Regions from separate parts of the Homo sapiens genome. Here region 2 is linked to region 1. Evidence: promoter capture Hi-C in 16 types of primary human blood cells and fetal thymus (Javierre and others, 2016). All regions are on one chromosome and are shown on one strand. The core of a region is centred on a gene start or on the middle of the fragment in contact, and the rest is flanking DNA. Distances in the headings are between cores, read along the strand shown. Region 1 holds the start of NDUFB3 (NADH:ubiquinone oxidoreductase subunit B3). Region 2 holds the start of MPP4 (MAGUK p55 scaffold protein 4).

Evidence for each region. The method cuts DNA at HindIII sites, captures the fragments that hold promoters and counts their contacts. A CHiCAGO score of 5 or more calls a contact.
Region 2: a contact is called between the fragment with the promoter of MPP4 here and the fragment with the promoter of NDUFB3 in region 1, in 5 of 17 cell types (total CD4 T cells, non-activated CD4 T cells, fetal thymus and 2 more). The highest score is 11.9, in total CD4 T cells.

The regions. Positions count from the first base shown.
Region 1 is chr2:201,069,422-201,074,143 of GRCh38, forward strand. NDUFB3 (NADH:ubiquinone oxidoreductase subunit B3) reads left to right here and starts at 2,580. Exons shown (of 3, transcript NM_002491.3): 1 at 2,580-2,638. HYCC2 (hyccin PI4KA lipid kinase complex subunit 2) reads right to left here and starts at 2,250. Exons shown (of 13, transcript NM_001321623.1): 1 at 2,189-2,250. RefSeq lists enhancers at 1,723-1,862, 1,853-2,478, 1,963-2,232, 2,253-2,342, 2,479-3,102. The HindIII fragment of the contact is 13,158 bases long and covers 1-4,722 here.
Region 2 is chr2:201,696,080-201,700,801 of GRCh38, forward strand. MPP4 (MAGUK p55 scaffold protein 4) reads right to left here and starts at 2,565. Exons shown (of 22, transcript NM_033066.3): 1 at 2,508-2,565. ALS2 (alsin Rho guanine nucleotide exchange factor ALS2) reads right to left here. Exons shown (of 34, transcript NM_020919.4): 34 at 4,188-4,722. RefSeq lists enhancers at 3,195-3,696, 3,697-4,196. The HindIII fragment of the contact is 2,266 bases long and covers 2,550-4,722 here.

The sequences.
Region 1 (4,722 bases), core at 1,330-3,829:
CTACTTGGTAATTTCCTACTCGATACTCAACTTACTGCATTCTACAATGACACCTACTGGCCATTCAAAATCAGCCATTAGTTCTCTAAGACAGCTCTAGTAGGCTGGTTACATAAGAAGAAACACACACACACACACACACACACACACACACACACACACACACACGCATAAAAGCAACACACACACACACACGCATAAAAGCAAAGATTTAACTGGTACTCAAAACACTACAGAATTCCACCTAAAATAGAACCAGAAATTTTCTTTGTGACTGAGATTGCATTATTCTTGGAAAAGGAGAAAAGACAAAGAACAAAACACCAAACATCAATAAAAATTTTTATCTAAAGCACTGACAAATGTCTCAGTACTGAGAACATCTGGGAACAAACAACTTTAATGATGCACCTCTTTCCCAATTAAATTTTTGAGAAAAAATGAAATTTTGATTTAGGTTCATATATAGGAATATAAATTACCATTAATAGAAAAAAATCACATCTTATAAAGTTTTTCTGACATGCAGTACCGAAATAAATTTAGGAAAATTGTAGAGTTGCTGACACTACATTAGACCTTATCTCCTAAGCTAAAGGCAATATTTCAAACACCTTACATTTTAGAAATTTATAACACTTCTTTTAAAATCATTTTCCAGTGCTGCTCTCAAAATTGTTTTTCAATGACCTACAAAATCAAGTTTTTATGTCGTTTGCCCTTCCATAACACATACTGAATAGAATTCCTATTTTAATTCTACATTTTATTGTGGAAACAATGAATTATAAAATTTTTTTAAATAAGATAATTTAGTTAATTATATCTATAAATATATTTTGCCTCTGTCCGAGAGGTTCAGAGTCCACTTTTTAAACCTAATAAATAATTCATAAGTAGCTTCTCAGACTTGCTTACAGAACAAACTACTTAAAAGTTGACTTTTTTCTGCCGGGCACGGTGGCTCACGCCTGTAATCCCAGCACTTTGGGAGGCCGAGGCGGGCGGATCATCTGACGTCCGGAGTTCGAGACCAGCCTGACCAACATGGAGAAACCCCGTATCTACTAAAAATACAAAATTAGTCGGGCGTGGTGGCGCATGCCTGTAATCCCAGCTACTCCGGAGGCTGGGGCAGGAGAATGGCTTGAACCCGGGAGGCGAAGGTTGCTGTGAGCCGAGATCGCGCCATTGCACTCCAGCCTGGGCAACAACAGCGAAACTCCGTCTCAAAAAAAAAAAAAGTTTATTTTTTTCCCCATATTCAGACCACCACCTTATTTGCACAGTCCCTAACTTCCACAATATCCTGGGGGGAGGAAGGGATCTACCAACTAATTTTCTAGTCATTTTCCAACTTACACTGAGCTCCTACTGTACATTTTTAAAGGATTCCCCACTTTTCTGAAGATCTTTAAAAAATGTTGTCAGCCTTGACCCTCAAATAAATTCACGAACTACAAAACATGAACCTGGCCACATTCATCGCAAACTAGTATCTGTCAAGTCCATAATTGGGATAAGCTCTTCGTGACTACTCTATCCTCCATGCTACCACCCTTCGCCTAGAGAACCTGCCAATGTAAATGGCACTCAAGCCAATGAAAAAAGTGTTCTAACACATTAATAGGTTGCAAGACCTCCTCTCCCAGGAGGGACAACCTAGTTGTTTGGGTAAATAACAGCCAAAGATTACATAATGTACAGCAATAATGAGTGTTCAGAATCTGACCGCCAGTAAATATTTTTCTTCTCCGCTCCCCCTCACCACCCCCAGGAAATGGCCCTAAGAAGCAATCACTGGGATTTCTCTTAACTGTCTTCAATGCCGTGTCCTTTTCTCGCCTGGGGCTTTGTGCAAAGAATCCCTTCAGCCCTCACGACACCGCCTTGCTCCCGCCTCTCCTCCCTCTCTGCTGGCGCCACCGCAGCCCCCACGCCCTAGGTGGGCCCCCACGTCGCCCCACAAGGCTCGGCTTCCACCCGCCTCGGCTGCCGCCTTCTCCTCCTCACGACCCTCCCAAGATGCTACCTGGTTTACGAGAGGTTCCGGGACCACCAACACACCGGCTACCGCCTTTCCAGACCACCCTCGCCAGCTCCCGTCTGTAGTTTCCGCGGCCGAAGGAGAAGAAAACCCCTCTTCATCTAGCACTTTGCCTCCCCCAAAGACAGCACCGCCGCCTACCTGTCACCCTGCTGTCTCCGGCTTCCTACCGCCGCCGCCTCCCGCAGCAGCCTGCCAACTGCAGCGCAACAACCAACCCTCTCATTGGGTGAGAACACGCTCTCAACAACAGCCTCCCTTATTGGCTGCAGTATGCCGGCAGCCCCGCCCTGTGTGCGGTGTCTAAGGATTCCGTCCCCAAGCAAGGACAACATATTATCTTCCCCGCCCTTCTCTTTTCTACAGTATCTGTTACCTCAGTCAGATTGAGGATGCACATATACTGGGAAAATAATCGACTTCCAGCGTCCCTCATGTAGTCTCTACCTGATTCAGGAATCTCTAACCCAGTATCGGAACGTTAAGCGGCTTCTCCGCTTTCCTGCCGTGAGAAACTCGAGGTGACAACCTCCGTTTCCGGTTGGCTCCGGTTGCAGAGTTGAGTGTCCTGAGAGGTCAGATTGCTGTCAGGTAAATTAGGGAGTTGGTGGGAGGCCCGTTGATTAGGATTAAGAGCTAGACTCTATTCTGGGGAGTGCAGAAAAGGAGAGACTAAATGGAGAAGGATGGGAGGCTGGGAGGGAGATCAAAGAACTAGCAGGCGAGAACTAATGAAGTCCTAGTTTAGAGTTGGGGTAGGAAGAGGTGGTTGGAGGATTCAGTGATCATTACTGTAGTTGTTAAATCCAGGTGCTTGTTCCCGCTTCTGCCACACGCAAAATTGTCTTTGTTTGCCTTTGGATCGCAAAGGCAGAAGAACAGCATCACTAAAAGTAATAACAGTTCATTTGTTTTTTATGTTCTAATATTCATATAATCACAGTTTTTAATACGAGGAAGTTAAGATATATACTTGATAGTCTTCGGTAAACTAAAATTGCATGTAGTGGAAGTAGCATTATCTTCTTATTTCTTTCTTAGGGAAAGGATACCAGCACATTTTCTTAGAGCCAGCTTCCTTTAGTGGAGGTTGATCTTCATGAGACTTTTAGATTCACTTCAGACATAGATAGCTTTTAAAATTTTTGGTTGCATGTTTTTTCTTTATTTAACTAATTTCCTTACTGTTATTATTTGAGCTGCTCTGAAACGGAAATAACCACCATTTTTCAGTCCTCAGCACAATTTAAGTCAATTTTTCTATTTTTATTTTTTATTGTCAAGTATATATACAGAAGGGTGTATAAAACATACATTTTAAAAAATTATAACTAACAGAAGCAGACACTCCTGTATCCACCTCTTAGATTAGAAAATAAAGCATTGCCAATAACTTAGAACATGCAGTCTTAACAGGGGTGATTTTACATTTCAAGGGGTTGAAAATTGGTGGGGCCGGGGTCGGAATCTTAGTTACTACAATGATTTGTGTCCCTCCAAAGGGCCACAGTATATAAACAGTTATACAGTATATATGTAGTGTTAAATTTTCATGGCGGGGGGTGTGATTAGGAATAAAATGTCTAGAAAGGTTCCTTACAGGGACAATAGTTAAAAATTGGTTGAAAAACACTGCCTTAGAATCTCCCAGTATGTTTCTGTGATTCCATCTCCTCCACCAAGAGGTAACCATTATCCTGACTTGTGCTAAGCACTCACTTGTTTTACTTTAATTTTTCCGTCTATGATGAATTCCTAAAAAATGAATTGTTAGGCATTTCAATCTATATAAATGGGTTCAGAGTGCATGTGTATTTTTTTCTGACTCACCCCTTGCTCATTATCCATATTTGTGGAGATTCAATCACACTTTTGCATGTAGTTTTTTGTTGTATAATATTCTACAGTGTGACTATACCATAATCCCTTCTATTGTTATTGGACATTTGGGTTGTTTACAGTTGGGAGAGAGAATAAACAATGTGGCTATAAAGGTTCTTTTAAAAACATATTTCTTAGGCTGGGCACGGTGGCTCACGCCTGTAATCCCAACACTTTGGGTGGCCGAGGCAGGCGGATAATGAGGTCCAGAGATCGAGACCATTCTGACCAACATGGTGAAACCCAGTCTCTACTAAAAGTACAAAAAATTAGCCGGGTGTGGTGGTGCACGCCTGTAATCCCAGCTACTCGGTAGGCTGAGGCAGGAGAATCACTAGAACCTGGGAGGCGGAGGTTGCAGTGAGCCGACATTGCACCACCCACTGCACTCCAGCCTGGCGACAGAGTGATACTCCATCTCAAAAAAAAAATTTGTTTTTTTTTAAAGACTAGAGGCTTGATGTCTCTAAGAAAATATTTTAAATATATTTTTTATATTCCATAAATATAAACCTTTGATCTGTGATTATGTTTATAAGATTTACAGTTGATAAAGTAGATTCATATATCCAAATTGTTCCAAAGACACTTTTATTTATTTATTTTATTTGTATATTTTTTGAGACAGAGTCTCGCTCTGTCGCCCAGGCTGGAGTGCAGTGGCGCGATCTCGGCTTAGTGCAATCTTCACCTCCCAGGTTCAAGTGATTCTTCTGTCTCACCCTCCCTAATAGCTGGAACTACAGGCATGTGCTACCATGCCCAGCTAATTTTTTTATTTTTAGTAGAGACGG
Region 2 (4,722 bases), core at 1,315-3,814, 630 kb after region 1:
AAGGCAGTGAGAAGAGCAACACAGAAAGCTGTTACAGCATTTTAGACAACTTTCCCCTACACATTCCTTTCCAAACACCCTGAAGTCTTCCGGTTTGCTAGGTTCTACCAAAGCTTGACATCGTTATGCTTTTGACTTGCCCTCCATCACCTACCTTGCCCACTTGTAATTGAGTCAGATTAAACAATGCGTTTTCCTGTGTTCTGTGTTGTTTTTGACTCTATTGAATCATTTAGCATCACAGCTGCATATCTGACTCATCTTCCTCCCTGGAGGGGAGCACTTCCAGGGTAGAAAATTGAAAAGGGAGATGGAGTGCCTGCTAGAGAGCAGACAAAAGTCAGAGCAGACAGATGAGGCTGACACTCAGGCTGACTCTTAAAATTGGTTCCCCTCCAGCACCTCACAAATCACACGTCCTTGGCAAAGCAGTGCAGATTAAACAAGCCAACTGTTGTTTGCACGTCATGAGGTGGACCACATTTCTGCCATATTTAATGCCCGAATGACTGTGCTGAGCTAGGCCTACCCATTCAGCAGTTGGGGGCACACACTAGAGACTACATATTTCTGAGATGAATTTATTGTGAGGGAGCTTTACAGATAGACTGTGCTTCACAGATAGGCGGTGGTTTCTTGAGTGAATGCAATGGTTAAAATAGCTTCTAATAAATCTAGAGCCAACTTCAGGGCTACCTAGATAACTAATTCATACATTCTAAAAGGCTCGTTTTGACCCAAAGTTTCTCAGCCATAGAGGCAAAAACAATAATTACAGTAATCTACAACTTATGCAAATTCTAAAAACTGTGCTTGGCTCCTCATCTTCAGGTTCCTATGACAAATTTATGGTGGACTGAATGTTGTGTCCCCACCCCCAATTCAGATGTTGAAGCCCTAATCCCCATTGTTGATGGCATTTGAAGATGGGGCCTTTGGGAGGTAACTGGGTTAAGGTCATGAGGTAGAGGCCTCAAGATGTCATTAGCGTCTGGGTAAGAGCCATCAGAGTTCATGTGTTCTCTCTCTCCCTGCCAGATGATGGCACAGTGAAAACGCGGCCATCTGAAAGCCAGGAAGAGAACCCTCGCAAGAACCCAACCATGCTGGCATCCCAATCTTCAACTTCCAGCCTCCAGAACTGTATGAGAAAATACATTTCTGTTGTTTAAGCCACTGTCTATGGTACTTTGTTATGACAGCCAAAGCTAAGACAAAACTCATAGAAAAAAACTTCCAGAAAATGATTTTCCCTCCCTCCAGGTAGCTAAGAAAACAGTTGCAACTTCTTGCCCTCATAGCACTTCTCATTTTCCCAGTTCTTGTATCCACTGGCTTGCTCAGTGTCTGTCTCCCGCAGGTGTCATGTCTGCAGAGGGCCTGGGGAGCAGAGATGTTGCTTATCTTGTTCATGCTGCAGCTTCACCTGCAACAGTGCTTGGGCCATAGCAAGCACTTGGTATGTTCAGTTGTTGTTGGGAAGGGGTAGAACAAGGAGAGGCCAAGATCCAGAAGTAAAAGGCTGATACCTCCCTCAAGGCAGTAGCCAGCAGCTGGGACTTCAATCCTAATGGGGGAGGCAGCTGAACTCCAGAGGCCTGTGCCCTCCCTTCCTTTCCTCCCTGGCCTGGTATCCTGACTTAAACCTCTTTCCCTATCAAACTTTAAAACTGGGGGCAGAAGCGGATCTTAGAGATAATCAAATGCAAAACCTTTGTTTTACAGATAAGGAATCTGACATTCAAGGAGGTATTCAGTAGAGTTAACATGTAGTAAAATCGAGTTTTCCTCTTTTGTTTCCTTAGTCCTGAAAGATGCTGATGCCTGGCATGATGCCTGGCAAAAGACTTACCTTCCTTTCCATGACTTCTGTACCAAATTTGTCAGTTGAAGCTTATCTATTTCTGCTATCTTGAGAGTGAGAATTCTTGATTGAGACTGCAAATAAGTAAGCACCCACCACATGCAATTCCGGACTGAGTACACAGAAAGGATAGCCAGTTCTTGACTCAGAAGATGCATTAGTGTGACTGATGCCTAAGGAATTTGTCCTAAATCTTGTTTTAAAAGTATTTCCATTAGCTTTTTAAAACGTACTATTAAATGCCACAACCCCCTACCCTTACTATGCTTGTTTTTCAAAATAGTGCTTTTTACTAGACAAACCCTAAAAAAGCACTTGGAAACTTAATGATGAGAAATGGCCCTTACAAAAATAGCTGGCTTCCTCTGGGTCCAAATGCTGTTGATTAGGACCAGGGCAAATGCCCATTGTACTCAATCTTCCTGACAACTCATTATTCCATACTGAAGAAATGGCTTCTCGAAGCAAAACCTGCTCTTTCAAGATCATAAAATTCCCCATATCATTTGAGTTAAAATGAAACTAAGCCATTTGAGTTAGATTACCCAGATTTATATCTTTAGCTATTAAAAACTGACAGGCAAGCTAGGCAGTTATGGATACATCTTCTGGTAACTGAGGATTATTTGCCAAGGTCTCTTACCTGCAAGACTGTAAACATGCATGTTGCTCCTATCCAGACAAAAGCTTTAGTAGGATACTAGTGGCCTGTTAGCTGCCAAAGTCACCTCACTGCTCCCGATAAAATCTCTGCACATCCTCTTTGATGTAATCCACAGATGCCTAACCCAGCCTAACAACTAAATTACTCACAAGCCTTTCCTGCCACAAATCTTCTTAAGTATTCCTTGAAGTCTAATTTGTATCATTTTCAAACCTACATTCTAGTATTTTCTCTCAAATTGCCAACACATAGTTAACGGCAGAAAAACATAGTATTTTTGTTGATTAGTTCAAGATGACAGACATTCCACAACAGAAGATAGCATTTTTAATGAAAGAAAAAAATGTGGCAGGACCGGAAATAAGCCAATAACCTACTAACCTTATTAAATCTCTCATGTTATGGTGAGAAAACAACTGAAGACTGTTCAGCTAATAATAGAAACCCATCAAAAACAGTACCTTCTGGTCAATCCCCTCCCAAGCCACTGTTCTGAACCTAACAAATAGTGCTTTCTGTCTCAGATAGGAGCTACTTCTTTATCTGAAAACTTAATACTGCAGGGAGTGCTCAGTGGGGAGAGCATTTGGAAGGGGATATTGCAGAAAGGAGAGGAAGGTATTGCTGACAGCAAGGCAAAAGGTAGAGACCAAATGGCAATTATCAGAGGGTCCTCAGCCCTTCTACCCATATTAATCACATGGCTTTCCTTATCTCTCCATCATAGATGAAAACACAAGTTGGGAATGTGATACATTTGTGTTTTGAGTACAGCATATTTTGTGAAAAGCACTTGATTTCAATAAGATTTTCATTTTTAACTCACTTTTAAGAACTTTCAATACATAACCAGCTATGAAATGACATCTCTGGCAGCTGTAGTAGCAAAAAGCACTGGACTTCTAGGGAAGTAGGGAGTAGGGAAGTTCTAGGCTGGAGTCCCAGCTCTGGCAGTGAGCAAATCTTGGTCACTGCTTGTCTGAAAAATGGGGGGAAATGGGGATAACACCTGCATCCTTGGGCTGCTGTAAGCATTCATTACGCATGTGAATGACCATTGTAAACTGCTGCAGGAGTGCCAAGGACTTCTATTTACAAACATTGGCCTGGAGATTTAGGGTTTTTCTTCCAATACACTTCAAAATTTATAACTTTAATATGCTATCTGAAAAGCATATAGTAGGAAGAATCCAAAGTAACTGAACAGTTTCATTCAAGACTCCAGTAAAAGGACGAATTGTAACATGGCTTTTCTTAGAACAGAGACAGCCTATCATCATTGGAAATCTTCTCAATGGGTCAATTTGTCTCAAAGTTTTTGTTTGTCCATTTCCACATATTATCCACCCCCGCCCAGAGTCAGAAATTCTGTAAATTTGGCTTTACCAGGCAAATGTGGTTATTTATGTGTTTGTTCAGAAACTCAAAACAATCTCCAATGTAAATGCAAAGTATTTAACATAAACGGATTTTTAAGGGTTGGTCCCCTTCCAACAGAGGACAGGCACATTCTGGTAGAGGCAGCAACAAGATGGAAAGGCCTCTTGAGAAAACATTACAACTGGGAGATAATTAATATCTAACGTTTCTAAGCAGAATTTTAAAGCCTCACCTTCCCTTCCCTCGATCTGTTTAGGAGGAAAAAAAATAACGAGTAACTATCAAAATATGCTTTTTATTCAAAGAAATAATAGATTTCTTTGGAGACCCGTGTCCTTGGGTTATTGGGGTCAGAAAGTTAATTTGCTCTTTGCTAGAAAGGGTGCTATAACTATTGGTTTACGTTTATTTTAAAGACAGAGATTTCTAAAACCCCAGAGGGACTTTTGAGGCCAATACTTAGAGGCATGGATTACAATGTGGGCTAAAGAAATACTAAGTCTGGGTTTCCTTTCATCTTTTAGGCTGCCCTGTTCATTTCTTCTACAATCATAAAACAACCACATAAAGATGAATGCCTTTTATTATGAAAATTGCTGTTACATTACAGCCAACATTCCAAAACAGTATTTTAATAAACACTTGTCTTGATTATAAAGTAGAGCAAAAACCATGATCCTTTTTCAAAAGTAATTAACATCTTCTCAGTCACTTAACACAAATCAGGACACTCTGTATGCTCACCACGGTGTAGGAGATGAGATGAGGAAGAGCACCTATGTTATTCAAAACAGCTACTAGTGTTACTTATACA